Regions from separate parts of the Homo sapiens genome. Here all the other regions are linked to region 2. The links are contacts of gene promoters, found by promoter capture Hi-C in human tissues and cell types (Jung and others, 2019). All regions are on one chromosome and are shown on one strand. The core of a region is centred on a gene start or on the middle of the fragment in contact, and the rest is flanking DNA. Distances in the headings are between cores, read along the strand shown. Region 1 overlaps POLN (DNA polymerase nu). Region 2 holds the start of HAUS3 (HAUS augmin like complex subunit 3). Region 3 overlaps POLN (DNA polymerase nu). Region 4 overlaps LOC124900839.

Region 1 (2,960 bases), core at 353-2,852, 150 kb before region 2:
TTACTGACATGGCACAGAAGTGAAGTAGGACTCAGACGTAACGGCAGATGACAGAGATGAGAGCTGACTGTGTGCCAGGTATGGCCCCATGCACCCTATGAGAGCATTTTCCCAGGAGGAGATGGCACAGGGAGGCGGAGGGCCTTGCACAAGGCCACACAGTCAGGAGCTGATAGGGTTGGGGATCAAGCCCAGGCTGCCGGGCCCAGGACTGGGGAGGTGATGTCCTGCCGGCAGAGCAGAAGCAAATGTTATGTTTGCAACACAAGATGCAGCAGGATGCAAGGCAACAAACTCTCATATAATTTGGCAGAGTGATGCCTTCCCCCAAGACAGAGGCCCCAGGGAGGTTCAGGGGTGCAGCACAGAAGAGGCTGAGAGGAGGCAGTGGACCAAGCAACTCTGAGGAGAATCAATCCAATGTCACACTACTGTCACTCACAGAACCTAGTTCTTTAAAACAAAGTTTCTTAGTCTATTTTCCAAAAACCATGTATACAATCAAAATGTTTTCAAAAGTGGAGCTGAGACCACCAAGTCCACTAATTTGTTCCTGTGTCTTCTCTGTGCCAGGCAGTGAGCTAACGTGATGAGCTCCTATCTTTGAGGTACTCATGTTTGAGCTGGGGCATGAGACCATGAACAGGCGAGTGGGTGCCCAAGGTGTGAGGCCCATGTGGCAAGGAGCTGAGACCACCTCCGGCTGACAGCCAGCAAGAAACAGAAGCCAGCCAGGTGCGGTGGCTCATGCCTGTAATCCCAGCACTTTGGGAGGCCAAGATGGGCAGATCACTTGAGGTCAGGAGTTCAAGACCAGCCTGGCCAACATGGTGAAACCCCATCTCTACTAAAAATACAAAAATTAGCCGAATGTGGTGGCAGGTGCCTGTCACCCCAGCTACTCAGGAGGCTGAGGCAGGAGGCTTGAGCCCAGGAGTTGGAGGTTGAGCCAATTTTGTGCTCAATGCAGTGAGCCGAGATTGTGCCACTGCATTCCAGCCTGGGGGATAGAGCAAGGTTCTGTCTCCAAAAAAAAAAAAGAAAGAAAGAAACAGAAGCCAACAAAGTGGATCCTTCCCCAGTCAAGCCACAGATGTGATCACAGCCCCAGCCAACACCCTGACTGCAGCCCCTGCAGGGGACCCAGCTATGGCATGCCCACACCCAGAGAAACTGTGAGATAGTGTGTATTATTTTAAGTTACTACATTTGTGGCAATTTGTTACCTAAGAAATGGGTAACAAATACTGTGGTTGAGGAAGGTTGCACAGGGGAGAGTTGAGCACAGGTCTGCAGAAGTGAGGGATGGGTTCTGGTGGTACAGGGGCAGGTGTTCCCATAGAGGGAAGAGTAGTGCAAAGCTCTGAGGTTGGAGCTGGCCTGGCTGATTGGCTGTGGTTCTAGACAAGCTATCCATCCACAGTTTTGGGGCGGGGCACTCTGGACGCTTGTTCAACGGCACCACATTCTCAATGGAGACTGTAGGGCAGCTCTTAGGGACAATCTACTATGTGCTTGCCCCGTTATTCTTCCACTGAAGCTTGTTTGGTTTTGCTGCCTTTCTGTGAATAAACAAAGGGTTTCCATGGCAGGATGGTGAATCTTCTTTTCAGGGTCTTTGCACAAGCCCTGCTACCCAAAGAAGAACTGATCACAGGGAAAAGGAGGTCTGAACAGGCTTAAGAAGGAGCTGGCTGGCTGGGGAAACTAGGCCATGCTGATTCAGCATGACCCAGGGCCAGAAAAGAATTAAAAAATCCCAGACAGCCCATGTCAGGGAGTCCAAGGGAGAGTAGAAGAAGGGTGAGTGGAAGAGAGTAGAAGGCCTGCTCTGACATGGGTATTGGGGCTAGGGGGTAGGGGGAAGGAGGGAGAGGAGCAGAAACAGGAAGGGAAGCAAAAAGGGGAGGGGAGGGAGAGGCTTGCAGAAGAGGCCCCAGGCAGCCCAAACCTCTGGCCTTCAGTCCTTCCTGGCCTAGCCCCGCTTTCTCCTATCTGCTACCCCTGAGATTGGACCCCTACTGCTCTGCTCCCAGCCCAAGGCCTGGCTCTGCCCTCTCTGGGGTGCTTTGGCTGCATGGCCCAGCTGGGTGAGCTCTGCCCTAGGGAGATGGGGTGCATGTTGAGATGTGGCAATGAGTCCAAGCGCTGCACACCTTGAGGCTATCTAACTTTATAATGCCTTGGCATGTGTGTGGACGAGGGTCTCCTCGAAGGTCTCCAAGCACAGCAGTGGTGCCTAGCACAGTGGTATGGTGTAGGGGTGGAGCCAACGGCTTGGTCACACTTGACCTGCCCAGCTCCGCGGCCTCCCCTGAGAGGCTGGATGTGACTCTGAGCAGGTCAAGGCATGGGGTGGTCTGGCCAGTGTCTGGTGACTGCAGGTGTCATCAGAGCATAAACAACACCCAGGGACTCACAGACGATTTCTGAGGCACAGCCACATTTAAACACAGGCACACAGCTGCCAGCTTACAGGTAACCCCGAGACCCCAGCTCCCGGCCCGCAGCCTACCTGCTCCATAGACCACCGCGTACACCACCTTCTTGGTTTGCTCTCTGTCTGCGTGTGTCACCTGTTCCACGGGCACATCCTTCCTGCATGGAGAGACCATGTGTGAAGTTCAGGCACAGAAGGCACTGTCAGTGCAGGGCAGACAGTCCAACCACACACCCCACCACTGTGCTTCCTCTGGAAATTCCTTATGCTTTCATGGTGGCCGGCACACTGGCAGGGGAGACATTCCATACCTGTGGTGTCAGCTCAGCAAGGGCCCCAGGCAGATGCCTTCGGCGAGGCTGCAGCAGCTGCTGCCAGCCAAGCACCACCCCACGTTCCCAGGTGTCCACAAATCAAAACCCAAAACTGCTTTCACCAAAGGCATGCCCATCCAACTTCAGGAAAGGCCGTTCCCCATATTGGGGTGCCTGGGCCTGGGCCACGTCTGTGTCTGCTGCAG
Region 2 (3,283 bases), core at 188-2,687:
TCAGAAGTTTTACACGTTTTAAGAGCTTCATCCAATGCCGCCCCTTCTAGAATAGGCTTGCCTGATTTCTGAAGAATGCTAAAAGCTTCCAATTCTCTTTCAGACAACACGTTCTGTTCATTCACATTCCCACAAAACCACTTCAGAAACGATTCATCTTCAACGCCCTCAAACAACCAGTCAAAGTCTTCTCCATTAAGATTATCAGCTTTGGGATAACCAATTTTTTTTAATGTTTCCACAAACTCATTTCCACAACTCATGGTTTTAACTACCCCAATTTTGTTGTATCTGATATGGGTTTACGGTGTTGATTTTTAGAAAATAAATCCAAGCAGAAAAAAAGCTACGTTTTATACCAAGTCCACAGAGAAGGGAAAATATATTTTTAGAATCTATAATGATTCCTCCTAGGGGGGAAGAAAACAAGTATTAGACCACAAATATGACGACAGTGTTTTTAAAAAGAAGACACAGACAAATATCACATGATATCCGAGAGCGGGATAAATGACAGGTAGTCGTAGCTGCAATGTTTGATGATGATAAAGAGAAACAGAAACAATTAGGCTAGTTCTCAGAAAACCGCAACAGTAACGAAAAGTAATTAACAAGAAAGTGGATCTATTTGGATCCATTTTATCTTTTTTTCCAAAGATAAAATGGTTTAAAATGCATTACACTTTATAGAGCAGCATTTGTTTTTAATTCAAAATAAATGGATCCAAACAAACCCAAGCCACCAGGAGGCTAGGCAGCCTCTCTTCCCTGCCCTCCGTACGTAAGAAGACGCAAATAAGCATGGCACATCTTCTGAAGATCAACTAAATATTTACCTCAACGTCTCGCCGGGCAAGGCTCCACCTCCAGAGTCCACCACCGCGACGCGGAGAACAGCAGGAGCAGCAGGGAAGCGCGCGGCCACAATTAAGGGTGCTTCGGGCCGGCCTTCAGCCAGCGCTGAGGCAGCCCCGACGCCAGGGCCGCGCGAACCCCAGAGGCAGCGGCAAGCCCCAGGGATCCGCGGCCCCAAGGCCGCGATACACCAGACGCGCCAGCGGCAAAACCTTCCTTCGGAGGGTCACCCAGCTGTGACACCTAAGCACGCTGACAAAACAAACGCACAAGCCCACCGAATCGCCGTCGACACCGAGCTGCAGAAGACGGGGGTGACAGGCCCCGCACAGCCCCCGCCCCAGCTCCTCGCCCAGCGGACCGGGCCCTGATCCCCGGGCAGCTGCTGGAGCACCTGGAAGGAGCCCCCAGGAGCGCAGGAAAAAAAAGAGGCACCTGGGTGCAGACGGGGATCGCGGCCACTCCTCCAGCCCCACACCCCTGCGCCCAGAACCGAGGCCCGCGTCAGTCACCTCAGGAAGTTCCGCTTGCTTCTCGCAGGAGCCCGCCGCCACCGCCCTCCGTGCCCCGCGCGCCTCGCACTGCCTCACGGGAGCGCCTGGACGCGCGCAAGCGCACAAGGCGACGGCGTGGTCGTGGGGGATGACTGTTTGCGCAGGCGTAGTGTCAAAAGAGGCGGAGTCGGCGAGGCTGGACTATGGGGTGGAGCTGAGCAGGCGGCGCTCGGCCCCCGGCCGCTGCGGGCATCCTGCCTCCTGGGCGGGGCGCAGGGCAGAGAGAGGCGGGGTCTGGGCCGGGAAGGGCGGGGACAGGGCCTGGACAGGGGCGGGGCCTGGGCAGGGGGCGGAGCCTGGGCAATGAATGGGGTGCAGAGGGGTGCAGAGGGGTGCGGTGGGGCGCCCTCTGGGGAGCTGAAGCTGCGGGCCTGCTCTCAACGGAGCCGTCAGTTGTGCTTCAGGCCTGCCCTGCCCCGTACTTCAATCTAGACCCTCTGAAGGCACTTTTGAATGGTACAAAGAGCAGCGCAGGTTGGTGGTTGGGAGACAGGCTGGAGCCCGGCGGTGATAGCGCTCGCCCCCGAGAGAGACGAGTTCCCGGAACATTCACAGCAGCCCGACCAATGCCTGGTACATTTTAAGGGTTAGGGATTGTTCGCTTAGAGTCTTTTACAATGAACTTTATTTTGCAAAAACACTTAATTTCTAATCCCTCACCAGAACACTATGTAAAAGCTGACTTCTGGCCGGGCGCGGTGGCTCATGCCTGTAATCCCAGCACTTTGGGAGGCCGGGGGGGGGGGGGGGGGGGATCATGAGGTCAGGAGTTCGAGACCAGCCTGGCCAAGATGGTGAAACCCCATCTCTACTAAAAAATACAAAAATTAGCCGGGCGCGGTGGTGGGCGCCTGTAATCCCAGCGACTCGGGAGGCTGAGGCAGGAGAATCGTTTGAACCCAGGAGGTGGAGGTTGCAGTGAGCCGAGATCACGCCACTGCACTCTAGCCTGGGCGACAGAGCAAGACTCCGTCTCAAAAAAAAAAAAAAAAAAAAAGCTGACTTCCTCCACAATTCCCTTTTCAAAATGTTAGAAATAAACGGAATGGCCTGAGTTAAATACATCGATATATTTAACTCAAGGAGGATGGTACACCATTTCCAAAGAGGATGGCAGTCAGTGAAAGATGACTGAAACGGGATTGCTAAATTTCATGTGAATCTGGCTGATGCCCTACAGCCCAGTGAAACCAGACCTCTCTATTGGACAGAATTCGTTTGCATCTCTACCAAACAAAAATCCTTTGCCACTCCTCAGTCTTCCACAGGTTAGCAGGGGCTTTGGTCATGGGTAAATATAATAGTACTCCCTCCCTTCAGCGTCAAATGACCCTAAAGGTGGCTTGTTAGACAATGTCCTAGTCCAGGGTGACTAGGTAGAAGTCGTTTGGATAGTTTTTCTTAATATTTTTAAGGAGAGAAATAAGAATGTTCTAAGGCAAATATTGTAATCTGATCGAGTCAAAGATATTTCCTATTCATTCTTCACTTGTTTCACGTTTTTTTCCTCCTCTTTTAAAAGTCAATAAGGCCTAAAATGATCTGAAAAACAAACATGATGGGAAAAAATTCAAAGAGTGGTGCCCAATCTGCAGGCAAGGAAACCAGGGATGCTGGAACGGGGAGGCCTGGTGGGAGGACCCTTGCAGCCCAGGGTTGGAGGTTGGGGGTGTGCATCAGGGGGCAGAGTTGAGCCAGTTTGGACAGGAGGAAGTGGGAGCTGTGCAGGCAATGCCTTCCAGAAATGTTGCTGATGAGGCAAAGACTGGGTGGGAGGAGTGTGACACAGAGAGAGAGATACAGAGAGACAGAGAGAGACAGAAACAGAGAGACAGAGACAGAGAGACAGAGACAGAGACAGAGAGACACAGAGA
Region 3 (3,370 bases), core at 531-3,030, 160 kb before region 2:
GGCCTGCTGCCCCCAGACCTACTGCCAGCCTCTCCTGTGAGGTGGACACAGGCAGCTCGCCTTGTGCCCCCGGGAGGGGACGTGCGGCGTGGGTAACTCACAGGATGAGCTGCTGGGAAGGATGGGGTGTCAGGGGGTCCCACGCACTCTGTCCTCTGTGTGACCTTGGCTCTGTCTCCTGGATCGAGTCTTCAGGGGCAGGGGTCACGTCCTATCTTCGCCCCTGCTGCCCGTCCTTGGCTGGCACAGATGGGCACAGCGGGCCCAGGGCCCTAGGGAGCTGGTCTGCATGGGCGTCCTTGCCGGGCAGTAGTCACGGGCATGTGACGGAGAGCCCCAGCTGGGATAAGGGGCAGCCTTCAAGCCCCAGGGTACAGGTGGGCTGTGCTGGCACTTTCCACAGGGGATGTGGACTTTGCAACAGAGATTTCCGGTGACCTGCCCCAATCCGCCCTTCCTCTCTTTCTTCATGTTGGCCCCTTTGTTGCTGGGTGGGGTGGAGGTGGGGCTGTGTCCTCAGCTACAAAGGACATTTCCCAGGCTCTCTCTCAGGCAGGGTGGCCCAGGACTGCATTCCCTTCAACTTCCAAGGAGGCTATTTTTTTTTTCCTTAGCAGGGAGGGAGGTAAGGAGTGGGAAGGAAAAGAGACTCCAGGAAAGTCCTAAAAGGGAAGGCTCTTTAAACGGCTGACTGTAAAGGGCTGCCAGGGGCAGATGCTCTTCTGACCACTATGACTTTCTCCTTTGCCTGCAAGGTGTGAGGGCTGGAGCAGCCACCTCCATCACAGCACCAGGAGGGAATGGCCAGGGAGCCAGAGGGACTTCGGTCCTGCTGCTCTGAGCCTCTGAAACAAAGCAACCACTGTTCTCTGGACTTCTCGTGATGGGAGAAAAGTCTGCCTTCTGGAGTCTGAGCTGCTGTAGCTTGGGCCTGTGTTCCTGACGGCCAAGTGCACACCCTCCTGGGTGTACATCCACAGGACACTACGTGGGCCCAGACAGCGGTACACTGGTGCTCACACCCTCGAGCAGGCTGCCCCCAGGGAGGGGGAGGTGGGCCTGTGCTTCATGTGCAGCCTCTGGCCAGGGGCCGTGGGCACTGCCCTTCCAGAAGTCAGAGGGGCGACAGAGCCCCAGGCTGTCAGCACCAGCAAGCTTGTCTTCAACTAACTTCAAGGCCTCAGGCAGAAGTCTTTGTCTCCCAAGAGGACTTACTTTTCAAATGGGCAGAAACCTCAGAAAAGGCACTTGTAACTTTTTCCAGATTTAGCAGAAGCAGTTTTCACACTTCTTGAAATTACATTGTGAAATTCTGAGCTGCTGGTGTGGCAGGAACCTAAGAATAGGTGCAGTTGTCAGTCACTCACACATCATTCTCGCAGCCACTGAGACATGACCGCGCTTCTAACTGGGAAATGGGGCACAGGTGAAAGAAGAAGGACGTCTGTCGTCTCCGTGTGGGGTGGATGAATGCAGGGCCTTGGATCCTGTTGTGTTCCGGAAGGGAGTGGACCTCTGGTGCAACTTCTCATCCCTGTTCCTGAGAGGGGTCGGCCACAGAGCTGCTGTGTTCTGCATCTGGATGGCCTGACTGAGATCACTGCACCAGTAGGAGAATGTTCCAGAAGAGCCTCACCGTGTTGCCTGTCTGGGGCCTGCAGGGGCAGCTCCCTTGCAAGGGATGCCCCCAGCCCTGCTGAACTGCTCTGTGGACTCATCCTGAGTGTGGGCGCATGGTGGCCTCATGCAGACCCGCCTTGAGAAGGCCCAGGGGAGGGACCGTCACAGCACTGACACGTTCTGAAACCCAGGAAGGCCTTTTCATAAAGGGCCTGCACCAGAAGAGACAGACAGGACAGCCGAGCCATGGCACAGAGGCCTGTGAACGCTGGCCACCGGCCTCCTGCTCTGAGCCCAACCTCTCTGGTCTTTTTAGGATCTGGACCAAGAGGCACAAACGAATGCCATTTCCCTGTCACAGGGACTGTGGGTGGTGAATGCAGACTGTCCTGTGGCCCCAGCCCACCTGGGCAGACCCTTGGGGTGGCCAGATGAATCTTCTTCTTCTTTTTTTTTTTTTTTGTTAGACAGACTCTCGCTCTCGCCCAGGCTGGAGTGAAGTGGTGCGATCTCAGCTCACTCTAGGGGCACCGTGTGCCTCCCAGTGATCGAGTTTCATGCCTGCTGCTTCAGCGAGAGATGCCTGGCCACACTGAGCCTGCACCCGTCCCTTCCAGACGCCATCCACAGCCTTTCACATTACTCCTGGAAGAACAAATCACGTTCACAAAACACAGACCATGTGCCCAATATTCCACACGAGTCTGCTTTGCATTTTGCTATGAGAAGCATTTCCTCGTGACAGCCAATGGCTGATGACAGAAGGATGACCAGCGAGTAACTGCGTTCCTGAGTAAAAGTGTCTGTGTCCAGCTTTCAGAAGGACTCAGTCAGCAACAGAGAGAGACCTCAGCTCCTCACATGCCAACTTCCTTTATCAATTCCACAAGGGCTGAAAGTGAACCGATTTTTTCTTTTTTTGAGGCAGGTTCTTGCCCTGTTGCCCAGGCTGGAGTGCAGTGGTATGATCATGGCTCACTGCAGCCTTGAACTCCCAGGCTCAGGTGATCCTCCCACTTCAGCCTCCTGAGTAGCTGGGACTACAGGTGTGCACCACCATGGCCAGCTTTTATTTTGTAGAGACAGGTTTCATTATGTTGCCCAGGCAACACATATGTTGTTCACAAACTTCTGAGCTCAAGTGATCCACCCGACTCGGCCTCCCAAATGCTGGGATTACAGGTGTGAGCCACTGCGCCCAGCCTTGAATCAACTTTTCTAGACTTGCAGTATCTTAGAGGCAGGACCACCATTTGGCTTTCAGTTCCTGCCAAGACGGAAACTAGCACAAGCTGCTCATATCCTGGGAGAAGCTATAATTTACCTGCAGAAACTGTGGAAGTGAGCGGGATGCATGGATTTCAGGACACCATGAGAACACTGTGGGGCACTAGAGGCTGCCTGGCATCAGTGTATATGCGTATATGTGTGTGCATGGGTTGTATGCATGGGTGAACACGTGTATGGGTGCATGTGCTTGTGTGTGCGTGTGTGTGCACGTGTGTGTTGGGAATGAATGCAGATGGCAGTGAGATGGGGCAGGAGAGGACTGAGAGTGAATCTTATTTTTTTTTCTGTTAGACAGAGTCTTGCTCTCACCCAGGCTGGAGTGCAGTGGTGCGATCTTGGCACACTGCAACCTCCACCTCCTGGGTTCAAGCGATCCTCCTGCCTCAGCCTCCTGAGTAGCTGGGATTACAGGTGTGCGCCACCACACCTGGCTAATTTTTGTATTTTTAGTAGTGACGAT
Region 4 (3,359 bases), core at 674-3,173, 210 kb before region 2:
TCTCCTTCACCTACGAAGCTTAGTTTGGCCGGATTTGAAATCCTGGGTTGGAAATTCTTTTTTTTTTTTTTGAGATGGAGTCTCGCTCTGTAGCCCAGGCTGGAGTGCAGTGGCATGATCTCGGCTCACTGCAACCTCTGCCTCCTGAGTCCCGGTTCAACCAGTTCTCCTGCCTCAGCCTCCCAGGCAGCTGGGATTACAGGCACGCACCACCCTGTCCAGCTAATTTTTGTATTTTTAGTAGAGACAGGGTTTCACCATGTTGGCCATGCTGTTCTTGAACTCCTGACCTTGTGATCCACCCACCTTGGCCTCCCAAAGTGCTGGGATTACAGGTGTGAGCTACTGCACCTGGCCTGGAAATTCTTTAAGAACGTTGAATATTGGCCAGGCGCGGTGGCTCACAGCACTTTGGGAGGCCATGGTGGGTGGATCACGAGGTCAGGAGATCAAGATCATCTTGGCCAACATGGTGAAACCCCATCTCTACTAAAATACAAAAAATTATCCGGCCGTGGTGGCATGTGCCTATAATCTCAGCTACTTGAGAGGCTTGTAGTGAGCTGAGATTGCGCCACTGCACTCCAGCCAGGCGACAGAGCAAGACTCCGTCTCAAAAAAAAAAAAAAAAAGAATGTTGAATATTGGCCCCCAATCTCTTCTGGCTTGTAGGGTTTCCACTGAGATGTCCACTGTTAGTCTGATGGGCTTCCCTTTGTAGGTGACCTGGCCTTTCTCTCTGGCTGCCCTTAACATTTTTTACTTCATTTTAACCTTAGAGAATCTGATGATTATGTGCCTTAGGGTTGACCTTCTCATGGAGTATCTTATTGGAGTTCTCTGGATTTCCTGGATTTGAACGTTGGCCTGTCCTGCTAAGTTGGGGAAGTTCTCCTGGAGGATAACCTGAAGTGTGTTTTCCAACTTGGCTCCATTCTCCCCGTCTCTTTCAGGTACTCCAATCAGTTGTAGGTTCAATCTTTTTACATAGTCCAATAGTTCTCGGAGGTTTTGTTCATTCCTTTTCATTATTTTTTCTCTAATCTTGTCTGCCTGCCTTATTTCAGCAAGACAGTCTTCAAGCTCTGATATTCTTTCTTCTGTTTGGTTGATTTGGCTGTTGATACTTGTGTTTGCATCATGAAGTTCTTGTGCTGTATTTTTCAGCTCCGTCGGGTCATTTATGTTTCTCTCTAAACTGGTTATTCCAGTTAACACCATCTGTAATGTTTTATCGTGGTTCTTAGCTTCTTTGCATTGGGTTAAAACATAATCCTTTAGCTCAGTGAAGTATATTATTACCCACTTTCTGAAGCGTACTTCTGTCAGTTCATCCATCTCAGCTTCAGCCCACTCCTGTGCCCTTGCCGGAGAGGTGTTTTGATCATTTGAAGGAGAAGAGGCATTCTGGCTTTTGGAATTTTCAGCATTTTTGCGTTGGTTTTTCCTCATTGTGGATTTATCTACCTTTCCTCTTTGAGGCTGTTGACCTTTAGATGGGGTTTTTGTGGGGTCTTTTTTGTTGATGTTGTTGTTGTTGCTTTCTGTTTGTTTTTCTTTTATTTTCTTTTTTTTCGTTTTTTTTGAGATGGAGTCTCGCTCTGTCACCCAGGCTGGAGTGCAGTGGCGCGATCTTGGCTCCCTCACTGCAACATCCACCTTCCAGGTTCAAGCGATTCTCCTGCAGCCTCCCAAGTAGCTGGAACTACAGGCGCCCACCACCACGCCTGGCTAATTTTTGTATTTTTAGTAGAGACAGGGTTTCACCATATTGGCCAGGCTGGTCTCGAACTCCTGACCTTGTGATCCACCCTCCTCAGCCTCCCAAAGTGCTGGGATTACAGGCGTGAGCCACTGCGCCTGGCTGTTTTTCTTTTAACAGTCAGGCCCCTCTTCTGCAGGTCGGCTGCAATTTGCTGGAGGTCCACTCCATACCCTGTTTGCCTGGGTATCACCAGTGAAGGCTGCAGAACAGCAAAGATTGCTGCCTGCTCCTTCCTCTGGAAGCTTTGTCTCAGAGGGGCACCGACCTGATGCCAGCTGCAGCTCTCCTGAATGAAGTGTCTGGTGGCCCCTGTTGGGAGGTCTCACCCAGTCAGGAGGCATGTGATCAGGGACCTGCTTAAGGAAGCAGTCTGGCTGCCCCTTACCAGTGTGGGTGCACTGCGCTGGGGGGAATGCCCCCTCATCCAGGTCACTGGGACTCTTGGGAGCCAGCAAGCAGGAAAGATTAAGTCTGTCCAACCTGAGACTGCGGCCACCACTCTCCCCAGGTGCTCTGACCTGGGGAGATGAAAGTTCTGTCCGTAAACCCCTGGCTGGAGTTGCTGGAACTCCTGCAGGGAGGCACTGCTCGGGTGAGAAGGGATGGGTCTGGTTCCCAGTTAAAGAGGCAGTCTGGCCACAATCTGCCACAGCTGCTGTGCTGCGCTGTGGGGAATTCTGCCCAGTCCAAACCTCACAATCTCCCTAGCACTGGCCAGGGAAAACTGCCTCCCAGGTTCAAATGACTCTCCTCCCTCAGCCTCTCGAGTATCCAGGATTACAGGCATGCATCACCACACCTGGCTAATTTTTTTTTCTATTTTTAGTAGAGATAGGGTTTTACTGTGTTAGCTAGGCTGGTCTCGAACTCCTGAACTCATGATCCACCCACCTCAGCCTCCCAAAGTGCTGGGATTACAAGTGTGAGCCACCACGCCTGGCCTTGTAAGCCCATCTGTTCTGCCCATTTACTTTCCTCAGGAGTACAGTAGGGTGCTGCTGGCATGGGTGCAGTACCTGGCATTAGTCCGTGGCCTGGAGCACTGGTGTTCTTCACCTGTGGCCTTGGCTGTCCTGTCCATCAGGGCATTTCCTCCGGGATGATAGAGGTGTCCCCCTTTTGGTGTCCCCTGCAGTGAGTAACTGCCACCTCCTTTGGGAGCTGGACAGCATCTACAATTCCAAGATCTCAGAGCAATGCTGTGTGGGGGATTCCTTAGCTGTTAGCGCTCCCTTTTCTTTCCATATGGCGTCATGAGCGTGGAGCACCAGGCACCCATATTTGGAATCGGTAAATATGTTGACTCTTAAGTCTTTTCTCAGTTGGAGGACCCTGATTAGACCAATTAATTCCACTTTTTGAGCAGATGTCTGGGGAGGTCAAGCTTTGGCCTCAATGCCTTCTTCTCGGCTAACTACTGCATAACCGATCTTTCTTTCTCCCTTATGAATAAAACCACTTTCATCTCTGAGCCACTCAACATCGGGGTTATGCAGGGGCTCAAGGGCTCATCTTTGAGGTCAGGCCTGCTAGAGGAGGTCTGTTCTATGGTTTCCACACAGGAGTGAATGAGTTGGGGATCTGTTTCCTGGGA

The links. Contacts are between HindIII fragments. The study calls those that stand out against the background at their distance.
Region 1: a fragment that was not itself captured here is called in contact with the fragment with the promoter of HAUS3 in region 2 in 2 of the 25 tissues and cell types used here (hippocampus and mesenchymal stem cells).
Region 3: a fragment that was not itself captured here is called in contact with the fragment with the promoter of HAUS3 in region 2 in 1 of the 25 tissues and cell types used here (dorsolateral prefrontal cortex).
Region 4: a contact is called between a fragment that was not itself captured here and the fragment with the promoter of HAUS3 in region 2, in 4 of the 25 tissues and cell types used here (IMR-90 fibroblasts, hippocampus, lymphoblastoid cells and 1 more).

What each region holds. Positions count from the first base shown.
Region 1 is chr4:2,093,336-2,096,295 of GRCh38, forward strand. It overlaps POLN (DNA polymerase nu), which reads right to left. Exons shown (of 26, transcript NM_181808.4): 20 at 2,516-2,598. Among named protein-coding and RNA genes, the nearest start is that of NAT8L, 35 kb to the left of the region's middle. RefSeq lists an enhancer at 1-451. The HindIII fragment of the contact is 8,327 bases long and covers 1-2,960 here.
Region 2 is chr4:2,240,684-2,243,966 of GRCh38, forward strand. HAUS3 (HAUS augmin like complex subunit 3) reads right to left here and starts at 1,438. Exons shown (of 6, transcript NM_001303143.2): 1 at 1,368-1,438; 2 at 837-1,107; 3 at 1-410. The coding sequence starts at 263. It overlaps POLN (DNA polymerase nu), which reads right to left and starts at 1,438. Exons shown (of 26, transcript NM_181808.4): 1 at 1,368-1,438; 2 at 837-1,107. It also overlaps the pseudogene COX6B1P5. RefSeq lists enhancers at 621-1,122, 729-828 and a silencer at 1,509-1,868. The HindIII fragment of the contact is 17,295 bases long and covers 1-3,283 here.
Region 3 is chr4:2,076,407-2,079,776 of GRCh38, forward strand. The region is part of intron 23 of POLN (DNA polymerase nu); the gene reads right to left. Among named protein-coding and RNA genes, the nearest start is that of NAT8L, 19 kb to the left of the region's middle. RefSeq lists an enhancer at 1-402. The HindIII fragment of the contact is 4,114 bases long and covers 1-3,370 here.
Region 4 is chr4:2,031,586-2,034,944 of GRCh38, forward strand. All of the region lies in intron 1 of LOC124900839, which reads right to left. Among named protein-coding and RNA genes, the nearest start is that of NICOL1, 8.7 kb to the right of the region's middle. The HindIII fragment of the contact is 6,531 bases long and covers 1-3,359 here.